3 separate regions of the Homo sapiens genome follow, and all the other regions are linked to region 1. The links are contacts of gene promoters, found by promoter capture Hi-C in human tissues and cell types (Jung and others, 2019). All regions are on one chromosome and are shown on one strand. Each heading gives the region's core, a stretch centred on a gene start or on the middle of the fragment in contact. The rest is flanking DNA. Distances are from core to core; before and after follow the strand shown. Region 1 holds the start of CACNA2D1 (calcium voltage-gated channel auxiliary subunit alpha2delta 1). Region 2 overlaps CACNA2D1 (calcium voltage-gated channel auxiliary subunit alpha2delta 1). Region 3 overlaps CACNA2D1 (calcium voltage-gated channel auxiliary subunit alpha2delta 1).

Region 1 (4,554 bases), core at 536-3,035:
TCTCCAGATGGCATTTACCCTTTTGCTTCATAACAAAAAGGATCTGCAATCAGTTTTATGGAAGATTATCTAAAGAGGAACATTACTGTAACTCAATGACAACAAAAATTAGACACTCCCCTTCTCCGGGATAGAATGTGCATCCTCCAGATTCTTGCACTGACACCTAAGGTAATAAATACTTAAAACTGAATCTTAAATAATAGCCGCAGGATTTCAACCGCTAAAGATTCACTGTTACTTTCCACCAAAAACTCCTGTATTCAGCACTCAGCCAACAAAGGACAGCAAGTAATTCCCAGCAGCATAAATACCGGGAAAGCTACCTTGGGCTTTGTTTTTGTTATGTAAAATGCATTAAAGTGACTCATCCACTTAAGATTACCTACCTTTAGAAGCTTTAAAGAAGCTCCAAGAACCAAAATAAATGCTTTCCCAGAATGCCGGATAGGCTATTCGGTGCATTAAAAAATATGTATATATTTATATGTGCCATTGAGTTTGATTCTATTTTGCTAAGAAAGGAGAGAATTATTATTTTTCATTCCCTTCCTGTGGTGTGACTATAGCTACCTATAAGCCCTCTATTTCCAGAACAGCAGCGAGGTTTTTAAAAGTTATTTTAGAAATGGTAAAAATAAAAGAAAATTTGTAGGAGACTGGAAATAGTCCCTCCTTCAAAGAATAGGCTCTATTCATTTGAAGAACAGGGACCGCGTGTCTGCCGACACTTAGATGTTTCAAATAATGGGTTGGGGAGGTTGGATCGCGTGGTCCCAGTACCTGCGAGCCCCCTGCGTGGACAGCACGCTCGGCCGCGGGGAGCCAGCACGCGTCTAATCGGAAGGCTGTCAAGTGCATCCAGTAACGTGGGATAAAACGAGTTTGGGCACTACAGCAATTAAAGAGCATCTCCGAGGCCAAGTGCGGGGGAAGTCCACGCTACCTCGGCAAGCCTGAAATTACCTGTTTGTAAATTACCCAACCAAAACATAACTTTTTATTGAACTGGGTTGAATCAGAGCGGGTGAGCTGGCTGGAAACTTTTTTCCCCAGTACGGCTGCACTCTGAAGTCTAGAGAATCCCGTTAGAGACGGGCTGAGACGCCGCGAGTCGTCGGCGGGCGCTTCCCGGGACAGTCGGCCCCCAGTGCCCGGCCCCGTGGAGGCGCCCGAGACGCCGGTTCGGGACGCATTCCAGCGGCGAGCGGCGCGCACCGCCTGCCCGGCGTCTCCGCATCCGAGCCTGGCTCCCCGGCCGCTCGCTCCCCACCCCCACGGGCGGAAAAGCCCCGCGACTCGGGAACCGACCCCCACCCCCAACTCCCGCGGCGCCCCTCGGCCGGCGCTCCCTGCCCGGCCCGCCGACTTACGTGACGGCCGAAGGGAACGGCTCCTCCGACGAGGGGCCGATGAGCAAAGATTGGAAAAGTGTCAGAGTCAAGGCCAGCAGGCAGCCAGCAGCCATCTTCGCGATCGAAGATCAATGCCCCCTCCCTGCCCAAGCGGGGGAAGGAGCGGCGCTGGAAACCGCGGGCGGAGGAAGAGCAGCACACGCCGCCGGGACCGCGGGCGTCTGGAGGGCTGGCTGCGCCCGGGGCCCGAGGCGCGGAGCCGCGCGGGGGACGGCAAGGGCGGGAGCGGACGCCGAGGAAGGGGCGGTGGCGGGCGGACCCACTAGCGTGCGTCGGCTGCTCCGCGCCGCGGCCGCCTTGCCTCCGCCGCCATCAAGGGCGACTTTGGAAACAGACCTCGGCGAGCCCGCCGGCGCTCGCGCGCTCTCGCTCTCCCTCTCGGTTTCCTCCCTGATTTATTCCCCCGATTGCCGAGGCGAAGGCGGAGGCGGGGGCGGGGGCGGAGGAGGGGTGACGGCGCTGGAGGGTGGGGGTGGCTGCAGGAATCGGGGAATGGCAGGCAGAGAGACTTGTGGAAGCGAGAGGCTCCGTCTGGCTTCTTAGGCAAGTCAGAGGGAGGCGGCTGGGGGTGGGCAGCGGGAGGGCTGGGCGTCAGAGCAGTCGGGCGGAGACGGGCCGGGAGCAGCCCTCCATACAAGGCAGCCAGGAACTCCCAAAGTCGGCGCCGGCTCGCTCCCGCCGCCCGGCGTGCGCAGGCGGAGCGGACCAGCCCCGCGGGGCTCCCGGGGGACGGCCAGCCGCCCAGCGGGCATCCACAGGCTGCAGAGGCTCCAACCCAGGACTTGGCTCGCGTCTTCGGGGGTTATTTTTGCACATGCAGGCAGCGTTCCCCCCCAGCCCTACTCCCAGGCGCAGAATCCAGTGCCTGCCTGGGAATCGTGAAGTGATTTGACAACAAATGTAGGAGGGGTTTGTATTGCATTTTAAAGCACCACTGTTGACTCTCTACCAGGTGGCACTATATGCCCGCGTGTGCCATAGGTTAGAGCCTCTGCCGGGGCTGGGTGCCCTTTGTGCCAGCGGTCCCACGCCCAGGTACTGCTCGGCTCACCTGGCGAGGACAGAGCCTCAGGGACCGGGCTGTGGACGGACAGAGAAGTACTGACGCTGTAAAATCTTCCCAGCCCTGTGGTTCCATTGGACAGAGGGGTGGAGGGACGAATTCTGCATCTAGGGAGGACAGTAGTAAGAGAAGCGCTTTGCAGCATCCCAGTTGGGACTACCTCCAAAAGGGTCCTAACGCCCTGCTCTGGCCACTGGCCTGCCCTGCCTGACAAGGTTACCGCAGGGTGAGCTCACTTTTGTCAATGCGAAGGCATGAAAAGGGTAAGCAGCAGGAACAGGTGGCACTCTGAGAAATGCGCCTGAAATGTAGAGGAGGAATTAAGGGAGGGGGAGAGAGCTAGGGAGTAGCAATGCCGGACTGGTTTTATCTCCAGACTCAGAGGAAGCAGTGGCGGGCTTTCTCCTTGAAAAGACAGGGTCTGCGACTAGGCCTCTCCCGCCCAACACAGGCCTCCTACAAGAGGGCCCTGGTGGGCCAAAGATAGAAATATATTCTTGCACACCTTAAATTCTTAAGCTCCCTCTAGTAGTGTATGAGAATACTTTTGACATGACGTGCAGAGAATACAATTTGTGATGACTATCCTGCATATGCAAAAATTCTGTAAGTATCGGGGTGGCTGTCAGATTTTTAATTAGCCCGTTCTTATTTTTAGGAGATGCTTCTGAAAGAAAAAGACCCTTATTAATTCGAAATGAATTTTCCAGCTCTCTGAAGGCAATCTCCCAAAACAAAGACTAATAATAATACTACTACTATTAATTACTGGCCAAATTTTAAGAGCGTGTGTGATTTTATGATGCTTAGCCTGGTGAATTTATTTTTCCTTCCCACTTATTTCTCCTTTTTTTAATGCCTTATTTGTTTTCTTTATGTTCTTCGCATCTCTGTCTTGCTCTTTGTTTCTTTCTACTCTGAGTGGCCTCACAAAAGGCACCCCACCGTGACTTAACTTAGTTTGTTTTATGCTAGGCATGGATACTGTGGCAGCAGGAGCTGCGCAAATGAGGGATGAAGTGGGATGTAATGGGATTGAGAACTACAGCTCAGGAGGGATATTTTATATAACTGAAGATAGCATTCCACTCCAAAATTAGATAAGTAAATAGTCAAATCCATCATTTCTTCCATTTTTAATAATTCAAAAGCAGACTTTCTTCCCCAGCATGAGGACTAAGAAGAGCAGAATTAGAGATGCCCATTATTGTCTATGTGATATGTTGGTATCAATAGCCTCACTACCTAAAAATACCATTGTTATATATTCTGTCAATTATTTCAACATCAACTCCAGACTTCCCACTATGGTACACTGTTTCCAATTTTATATCTTTAGGAGAAAGGGCTTAAAGAATAAAAGAATGTAATAAGCTTGTAGAGAAGGTAAGTCAGCCTTTATTATTAACTTTGTTGGCCTTTGAGCCAAATCTCAATTTCTTTGGATCACTCTGTTGAAGCACTGAGTTCTCCAATATGTGAAGCTGTTGAGGAAAGATATTGCTTCTACAATTCTTACTGAAAGGGTTGGTTATCATCTGTGAGCCTAAATCATTGTTTAATACTCTGTTGCGAGGTTTGCTATTAATTGCTTTTTACCAATCTAAACCTTCTTATTGAGGATATTCAAAATGTGGTTTTTTTTTAAATGTATGACAGCTAAAAGAAGACCATTTCCATAACATAGCATTAGGTTTCTGTTGGATTAACTATACCCATAACAATGCATTTTTTCAGCTCAGTTCTGTTATTTTGGAAAATTCCCTTAAAATCAGATTATATCCCATTAATCTTAATAAAATTTTGCTTAATCACGATAAATTTGCTGTTCAACATGTTGACAAATCATAAGGATTGTTGTTAAGCTGTTATAGTAAATGATGTAAATGTGCAGTAAATACAGTTAATATATTACAGGTTATAAATGAGCAAGAAGTCGCAAATCAGTATCTACTATTCATTTAAGAAGAAATATTTTAATTAGTAAGTTAGTGAAGTATTGCAGGAGATTTTTGCATTTAATCATTTCTAGAACAAAGTTTAAAGAGATTTAATTCATGCAAATCACTGACCTTT
Region 2 (4,554 bases), core at 1,121-3,620, 170 kb before region 1:
CTAATTTACTTACCCCTTTACTTCATATATATTGAATCATATAACACGTAGTCTTCTCCATCTGGGCTCTTTGGCTCATCACTATTGTTGTGAGATATATAATTGTTGCTACGTACAGAAATATTTTGTTCTTTTTATTGCTGTGCAGTTTTCTGTGTATGTATACACCTCGGTTTATTTATCCAATCTTTCGTTAAAGGACATTTGGGTTGTTTCCAGTTAAGGACTATTGTGAATAAAAATGTGTATCTGTTGGGAGACATGTATTCATTTCTGTTGGAAATATCCTAGAAATTGCTGGATTGTAGGGTAGGTACTGCCAAAGAATTTTCCAAAGTGGTTTCTGTGAAATGGATATCCACACATCTAATGTATTTAAGTTCCAGTTTCTCCATATGCTAGCTCCTCTCTTCTATCCAAATTTTAATTCTTGTTTTTTAAGTTGTGGTCATTCTAGTAAATTTCTACACAGACTCTTTCAAAGTCGTCATTACCAAACTCCTATTAACCACTTCTTTGGATTTCACTCATTGTTTAACTTATTTCATTATGTCCTTTGTCTAACTACTCTTATGTCCCATTTCAAGCTAACTGTATTTTCTCCATAATCATCTTTCTTGAACTGTATTCCTTATTTAACTACAAACTACTTCTTTATCCAAACTCATTCCTGTGCTGCATCAGATGACAAATGAGTGTCATAATTCCCATGAGACTCTGGCTCTATTTCATTCTTCCACTCTATAAATACAGTGTTTTAACCCCAGATTCAGGCCTCTGCTCTGGCTTTTTTCATGTCAATTGTCACCTAAATGAAAGTACATATCCACTACCATCCTCTCTCTCAGAAGTGTCAATCTTCTAATTCCATTTGCTGTTCGACAGCTACAGCAATAGAGTCTACCATCACCTCAAATTCATCATGTAGAAAAGAAAAGTACCACTTTCTCTAGAAACTAGATCCCCTCTAGTCCAAATACCATGATGTACACAGTCATTCAATCTGAAGACCTGAGTCATTCATTTTTACTCTTATTTCTCCCCTACATGCAGTAAATGAATAAATTCTCTTGATTCTTTATCAAATTTTATTTCCTTTATCATCTAAATATATAGTTATTTCATTAAAATAGAACATTTTTAATTATAATTGTATTCATTTTCTACCATCCACAAATGAACCCATTATCACTTGTCAAATTTCACACATGCTTGCTAATTTCTAATTTATTGATTGTGGTTCTCAGACTATCATCAATACCACCACCATTAACAAAGCATATCATCATGCCATATTTTTGAATAAATATATTCTCCCTTTTGTGTGTGAAAAATAGTACGTTGTTTTATTATTTCTATTTGGAAGTTGAGAAAAAATAAGCTTTAGATGCACAGTTATTAATTAGAGCCAAGGAGATAAACAGGCATCAAGAGTAAGGTAAATGGCTAGACCAGCAAAGCAGCTAATTACAATGGAAAACTCTAATAATCATTTTCCTCTTTCCTGAATCGATTTCAACTTTTTCAAAATAAATAATATTTATAATCATAGACAATAGATGATGGATAAATGGCTAGACCAGGAAAGCAGCTAATTACAATGGAAAACTCTAATAATCACTTTCTTCTTCCTGAATCTATTTCAACTTTTTCAAAATAAACAATATTTATAATCCTAGACAGTAGATAATGGACTAGCAATCTAAACATTACTAAAAAAAAGGAAAAATAAATTTACAGAAGTCAAAGCTCAATTAAGCAGAAACCCAAAATGAGTAATTTATGAGAGAAAACTTCTGACAGATTTTTTTCTCTCAATATAATCTCTAAAAGACAGATATTCTATAAAACATAAATAGAATCTAAATTGTAGTATTCCAGCTTTTAGAAAGGAAGAATTCTGACAGCAAGAGTATTGGAATATATGACAAAAATATAAAATAGCCTTTATTGAGGAACTTTTGTACTATAGGTAGTCCAGTGGCGGCATCAGTCATCCAATAGTAATAATAGTTGTAGTCATGTGTTCAACACCCTCTAATATGCCAGTGAGAAGCTGGAAAAAATTACTGTAGTGGCTTAAACATATGTCTACAAATTTGATACATCTTCCTTCAAGTGGTCGGCTGGATACAGCAACTCACTTCTCACAAATAGCATAAAGTAGAAAGGATAGCACGCAACGTAAGAAACTAGGTTGTAAAAGGTAATGTGAATCCCTCCTTGTACTTTCTTGAATTGCTCACTGTTGGGGAAGTTAGCTACCATGGTTAGGTGTTGTGGAAAGAAGCCCAAGTGGCAAGGAACTGAGGTCTCCTGCCAATAGCCATGTATACAAACCACCTTAGAAGTGGATCTTCTGAAAACAAAAGAATAAAGGTACTACTAAGAAAATTCAAAAATCAGCGTAATATCCTAGTACTTCTTTTGGTAAACTTATTTCTGAATGTTTCCGTTTGTTGCTATTATAAATAACATTGTTTTCTTCATTTCAAAAAAAATGTGCACAGTGAAAATTTAAAAAGTAGATCTTGCAGCACCAGGTAAGCCATCAGAGAAGCACCACCTAAGAAAGCCTGAGAAAGACTCATTCAGGTAAGCCACTCCTAATTTCCTGACCCATGGAAACTATGAGATCAGAAATATTTGTTATTTTAAGCCACTTTATTTTGAGGTAATTCATTATATGTAGCAATAAGGAAACGTACCAATAAAGAACTAATACTACTAACTAATAAACAACTTTGATATTATGTTCTAAATAAAATCACAAAATAAAGTTAAATAAATAAAATAAAAGTGAGATGCCATTTGTTATCTACCAACTTCGTTGCCTAAAAAATAATATCCAATATTGAAGAGGAGATAGAAACACACTATCATAAACTGCTAAACAATTCCAGATGGATAATCTGGCAAGCTCTATTCATAGTTTTTAAATAATAATAATATACCTTTTGATATAGCTCAACTTTGAGAATTTATGCTAAGGAAATAAGAAATTTGTACATCTATTTCTATATAAAAATGTTTACAGGATTGATATTTGTGGTATTAAAAACTGGAGTTCTTCTAAATTAGTCATAGGTACTGGCATATACATACGATGTTGCCATTATGATTCTATTTTATATATTATTTATTATGTATTATTGTATATCTTCTCTATAATATAATATTTTCTATTTTATTATTATTTTTAGAAACAGGATCTTGCTATGTTGCCTGGGCTGTAGCTATTCACAGATGTGATCATAGCACACTGAGGCCTTGAACTCCTGGCCTCAAGTGATCCTCCTGCTTCAGCTACCCAAGTAGCTTTGACCACAGGAGCACCCTACCATGCCTGGATTATTTTATTTCATTTTTATATTTGATGAAATAGGAAAACATTCTGAATATATTAATTGCAAATGAAGGGTATAATTCCAATTTAATAAAAGTTGTGTGCGTATGCATGCATAAGTGTGCAGATGTATTTGCGCCTGCATACAGGTGCACGTGATTATGTAAGAATAGAAAGAAGAATGAAAATAAAAGCTTCTCGATGTTAATAATATTTATACCTGGGTGTAGAATTAAGAATATGCTTCATTTTCTACTTTGCACTTACCCATATTATCAGTTTCTTAACAATGAGAATGTAATTTTTCTACTGAAGAAAATAATCCCAGTCATTGTAACACACTGTGACTGCTGTTCTAGAAGACCATATGTCATTTGACCCCTGGCTACCCCTCTGAACTCTCCTTATATACTCTCGCACTTGCTCATTAAGCTCCAACCACAGTGACCCTCCTGATCTTGGAACTCAAACAGCTCCCTCTGTCACAGAGCCTGCGCACTAACCCCTCCTTTTCCTAGAATGGCATTTTCACATCTTCTCATGGCTCCTCTCACGACTGTATCTTCCTCTCCAGTCACTGAGAGTATCTTTTGACCACCAAATTCAAAGCAGCCTGCCTTGGCAATACATTAAAAACTATGTTTCCCAGATTTCCAATCTTCTCAGTACTTTTATACTATAAAAAGTCTATTATTTTCTTTATTGCATATTTACTTTAATTTGTAAACATAAAATTACCATCTGGAAACTTGCCTGTCTTGGTTACTACTGTATCCCTAGTTCCTAGAAATAGCAAAAATTCATGAAACGTTTTCTTAATAAGTGAGTCCTAGAGTGAATGCTTCATTTAAGTTGCTGACCATCACATATTCTTTACACTGTCTTCACTCTTGGGTTATAGACACCGCACACTCTAATTTTTCTTCCTACATTTCTAATCAGTACTGCTTTCTCGTTCACTGAGTCAATCACTGTTAGATTATTCTTATTTAAGTGCAAAAAGGGGAAAGCAATGTGGGGAGCACCATATCTATATTGAATAATGTACAGGGGCTCATATGAATACAATACACTTCCACACTCAAAAGAACACTAGATTACAAACTCTATGAGGGGAGGCAATTCTTTTTTGTTGGTTCTAGCTCCTAAATCAGTGCCTGACATACATTAAGCACCCAATAGATAAATATGTGTTCAATACAGGTATT
Region 3 (4,554 bases), core at 591-3,090, 150 kb before region 1:
AATGGGTGCAGCACACCAGCATGGCACATGTATACATATATAACTAACCTGCACATTGTGCACACGTACCCTAAAACTTAAAGTATAATAATAATTAAAAAAAAAAACATGTAGATTCTGAAGAGGAAAAACTATTTCTGTAAGTGACCCCTTTAAAATGGGATTAACATCTCAGAGCATTTCTGACATCCGAATCAGTTAGCTCAATGTGTCTGCTAAAATTTTGCAGCCTTGGGCACTATAGCTGTTACAAGTAAGTGAAGCTTTATGCTACTGCAATTAATTAGCAGAAAGACACCTAATTATAAACCTCTTAGAATAGCAGGAAGGATTTTAGAGAAATTTAGACCCAAGATGCTTAATTGCACATTTTATTTAAACAAGTTGTATGTCTCCTTTTAAAGCTATCTGTTAAACTCCTATTCACTTCAGTATGGACTGATTTAAAATGCAGCTATAGCATTCCCTGACCCCATGCCATCCCACAACAAAACAGAGTTAATCATTCTCTCCTATGTATTACCACTGTATGTGGACATTCTTTATGATTTCATTTGTTATATAGTATTCTGATTAATTGCATATGTAGGTGAATATGAATTTTTGCCACTCCAACCTGTAGGAGCCTAGCAAATAGTTGGCATTCAATAAATAAGAATCTATGAGATTTAAAATTAAAAGGATTTATGCATGTAGTTGGTGACTGCCTATGTATCTGCAAAAATCATTTTAAATGTCAGGGTTTAGGATACTATTATTTCTCATTAGTAAAAACTCATATTGGCGGGGAGTGGTGGCTTATGCCTGTAATCTCAGCATTATGGGAGGCGGAGGTGGGAAGATCGCTTAAGTCCAGGAGTTGGAGACCAGCCAGGGAAACATAGTGAGGCTCTGTGTCTACCAAAAAAAAAAAAAAAAAAAAAAAAATTAGCCAGGTATGGTGGCACACATCTATAGCCCCAGCTAATCAGGTGGCTGAGGCAGGTGAATGAATCCCTTGAGCCCAGGAGGCTGAGGCTGCAGTGAGCAAGGTCGTGCCACTGCACTCCAGCCTGAGCAACAGAGACCCTGTCTCAAAAAATAAACAAATAGAAAAAACTCACATTAAAATGTATTACCCTATTTAATAGTATAACAACAATCTTGATCATTGATCTGTAACATGAATGTCTCCTGGCAGCTAATACTAAGATACCACACCTGTTAATACTTCCTTTGTGGGGGGAGATGTTGAATGGCAAGCTATCACTTGTTTTCAGTTGGTAACTTCACATAATTAGAAGTGTGTTTCTTCTAATATTACCAATGCTGTTGCACAATAGAAAGAATGTATACAATTTGTAGACTAGCAGAGTCAACATTCCTTTTCAAAAAAAATTTTTGTAAAAAAGTCATTGTAATTATAGAATAAAAAGGGTTTCTATTAAACAAATGAACAAACAGAATTCTAGGATACAATGGCTACGTTTTTATTCCTGAGATCACCTTTAGCCTTTTTAATGTAGTTGTAGTCTTTACCAATATCTGTGCCTTATAACATTGGCCAGCTTATTCTATATAGCACATTTTCTTGGGAATGTATTATATTTCAGATGCTGGAGGCTGTTAATAAAGATTTTACTATAAAACAAAACGACTAATAAGCAATCTTAATAAATAATTATGTATTCATCCACCTTCATAAACAAGAAACAACCTTAAGTTTCCTCAATTATTTTCTTGTAATACGGATATATAAGAAGCAGAATTTATTGCCAAGGGGTGGTTTTAATTAGAATCAAGTAGAGTAAAATTGAAATTTTAATAATTTTTTAAAAACCTTTCCTCATTAAATATATTAAAACAAAATTATTATGAAATACATCACTAACTAGAAAATGTTATTCAAAAACTCTTCAATACAAAAATGTTTGCAGCTATTGTAGAATTATACACACCGACTGGTAATTATTGAGTAATATTTAGTATGAATTTTTAAAATGCTCCAGTAGCAAATAATGACTCTAAAAACTAGTATCATGTAAATGTTTTCCACCAATAGGGAATCCCAGGGCAATGCAGACATTCCCATCTACCACCCAGTTCTTTGATTTCTGAGTGTACTAGTATATATAAAAGGACTAGAACTGTAACTGCCACTAAAAGATAACATTACAGAGTGGCATTATGAAGTCATCTGAGATTCCACTGTCTTCTTTCTTCTTCTAAGCTTATATATTTCAGAAACATAATCCAGGTTTTCCATTCTTTTCTATAATATTGTTAACATCTGAATGACCGTATTTACTCTCTTTACTTAAAATTGGTGACCAGAACTTATGAATAAGTTTCCTTTCTTTACTTTAAATTTCATATTTATAGTTCAATCATACTATGAAATTTATTTTTAAAAAGAGTGCAAATGTCTTTTTTTTTTTTTTAAGAGACAAGGGTCTCACTATGTTGCCCATGCTGGAAAGCAATGGCTTTTCACAGGCACACTTCAGCCTCTAACTCCTAGGCTTGAGTGTTCTGAGTAGCAGGGGCTATAGGCGCATGCTACCACACCCAGCTCCAAATGTCTAATGAGGCAAGTTTATGTACATATAATTCAATTAATAAGTAAAAATAGGCCGGGCACAGTGGCTCACGCCTATAATCTCAGCACTTTGGGAGGCCGAGGTGGGCGGATCACCTGCGGTCAGGAGTTCAAGACCAGCCTGGCCAATATGGTGAAACCCCGTCTCTACTAAAAGTACACAAATTGGCCGGGCGTGGTGGCGGGTGCATGTAATCCCAGCTACTCGGGAGACTGAGGCAGGAGAATCCTTTGAACCGGGGAGGCAGAGGCTGCAGTGAGCTGAGATCACGCCATTGCACCCAGCCTGGGTGAAAAGAGCGAGACTCTGTCAAAAAAAAAAAAAAAAAGTAAAAATAATAGTAAATACCAAGTCATTTTTTACTCACCTGGTTAATTGGGAAAAAAAAATTCTCTGCTTATCATACAAACATGTTGTTAACATTAAAGACATACTATGTACAAAATGAAAGTTGATCATATACCAAATTATTCTCAGTAGGTTTTTTTGTTTGTTTTGGGGGGTTTTAGGGAGAAAGTAGGTTAAAGTGGAAACTTTTACTTTCTCATTATTGTTTTGGGTATTTTGCAATCAGCATTTTCTCAGAAAGAACAGTGAAGATAGTTTTACTTAAAAAGTTAGATGAGAATGGCTGGGTGCGGTGGCTCACGTCTGTAATCCCAGCACTTTGGGAGGCAGGAGTGGGCAGATCACTTGAGGTCAGGAGTTCGAGACCAGCCTGGCCAACATGGTGAAACCCCATCTCTACTAAAAATACAAAAATTAGCCAGGCGTGGTGGTAGGCACCTGTAGTCCCAGCTACTGGGGAAGCTGAGGCACAAGATCACTTGAACCTGGGAGGCGGAGGTTACACTGAGCTGAGATCATGTCACTGCACTCCAGCCTAGGCAACAGAGCAAGACTCTATCTCAAAAAAAAAAAAAAAAGTTAGATGAGAGTAGAATGCATAATTTCAAAGTGTCTTCACTTCACTATCACATCTTTCAAACTTCAGTTTTATTATATGAGTAGCAATCAGATAAACATAATTGATTTCTACAGCCCTAAATTAATAGGATTATAGAAAATCAGAAAATATTAGAGAGCTTATAAAGGGAAAAAACCTATATTTTACTCATTAACCAACTTATTCATTCAGTAAATATTTATAGAACACCCACTATATATCAGGAACGATGTTAGGCCCAACAGGTATGAAGATAAATATGAACTGAAATGGGCGCGTATGGATTTTACCAGTTAGGAGACAATGAAACAAACAAAAACTTGAATCATGACCGATCTGTGATCATTGCTCTGAAGATAATACAGGTAGGTGTCTCTCATTCAGAATAACAATAGGGGTGGGTGTCTGATTTAAACAACATCGTCAAGCAGGCTATTTTGATCTTCACACTGAGACCTAAGGTAAAGAAAGAAAAAGTAAATAAAGCACGAAGTTAGGGAATTTTTTTTTTAAGTAAAGGGAACAGAATGTGCAAATACTCTCAGACAGCAATAAAGATAAAGAAGGCCTGTGGACTGAAGCATTGTAATGGGTAAAGAGGAATTAAATCAGAAAGGAAAGGACAAACTAGATCATAGAAGGACTCATAGCCCTTAATAGGATTACAGATACCATTTTAAATGAATAATATTTTATACGTAAAAGAATGAAAATTTGAAAAGCTCTTTCATCATGTAATATACAAACCATGTTGTCCACATAAAACAAAAGTAAAAGCCATGAGTAATTCATATAAAACTAAAGGTTATCAGAATATATATGAAAAGCCTCAGTAATTTGCTATATTTGCTACCGTAAGTATGCAGGAAAGACCATGTTTTCACAGTAATTATTTCTAACTCCTAAAGTTTAAACACGTCAACCATGTTTTCCAACTTAAGGACATTATTAAATGATAGTCAACCAAAGGAAGAAGGCTTCTTAAATTAGAATACTTAGAATAGTGAGGTTACAGCAATTCAGAATACT

What was found. The method cuts DNA at HindIII sites, captures the fragments that hold promoters and counts their contacts. A contact is called where the count stands out against the background at its distance.
Region 2: a contact is called between a fragment that was not itself captured here and the fragment with the promoter of CACNA2D1 in region 1, in 3 of the 25 tissues and cell types used here (dorsolateral prefrontal cortex, heart left ventricle and mesendoderm cells).
Region 3: a contact is called between a fragment that was not itself captured here and the fragment with the promoter of CACNA2D1 in region 1, in 2 of the 25 tissues and cell types used here (H1 embryonic stem cells and spleen).

What each region holds. Positions count from the first base shown.
Region 1 is chr7:82,441,992-82,446,545 of GRCh38, forward strand. CACNA2D1 (calcium voltage-gated channel auxiliary subunit alpha2delta 1) reads right to left here and starts at 1,786. Exons shown (of 39, transcript NM_000722.4): 1 at 1,374-1,786. The coding sequence starts at 1,468. RefSeq lists an enhancer at 228-791. The HindIII fragment of the contact is 9,545 bases long and covers 1-4,527 here.
Region 2 is chr7:82,270,301-82,274,854 of GRCh38, forward strand. All of the region lies in intron 3 of CACNA2D1 (calcium voltage-gated channel auxiliary subunit alpha2delta 1), which reads right to left. Among named protein-coding and RNA genes, the nearest start is that of CACNA2D1, 170 kb to the right of the region's middle. The HindIII fragment of the contact is 4,796 bases long and covers 1-4,554 here.
Region 3 is chr7:82,296,171-82,300,724 of GRCh38, forward strand. All of the region lies in intron 3 of CACNA2D1 (calcium voltage-gated channel auxiliary subunit alpha2delta 1), which reads right to left. Among named protein-coding and RNA genes, the nearest start is that of CACNA2D1, 150 kb to the right of the region's middle. The HindIII fragment of the contact is 6,244 bases long and covers 1-4,554 here.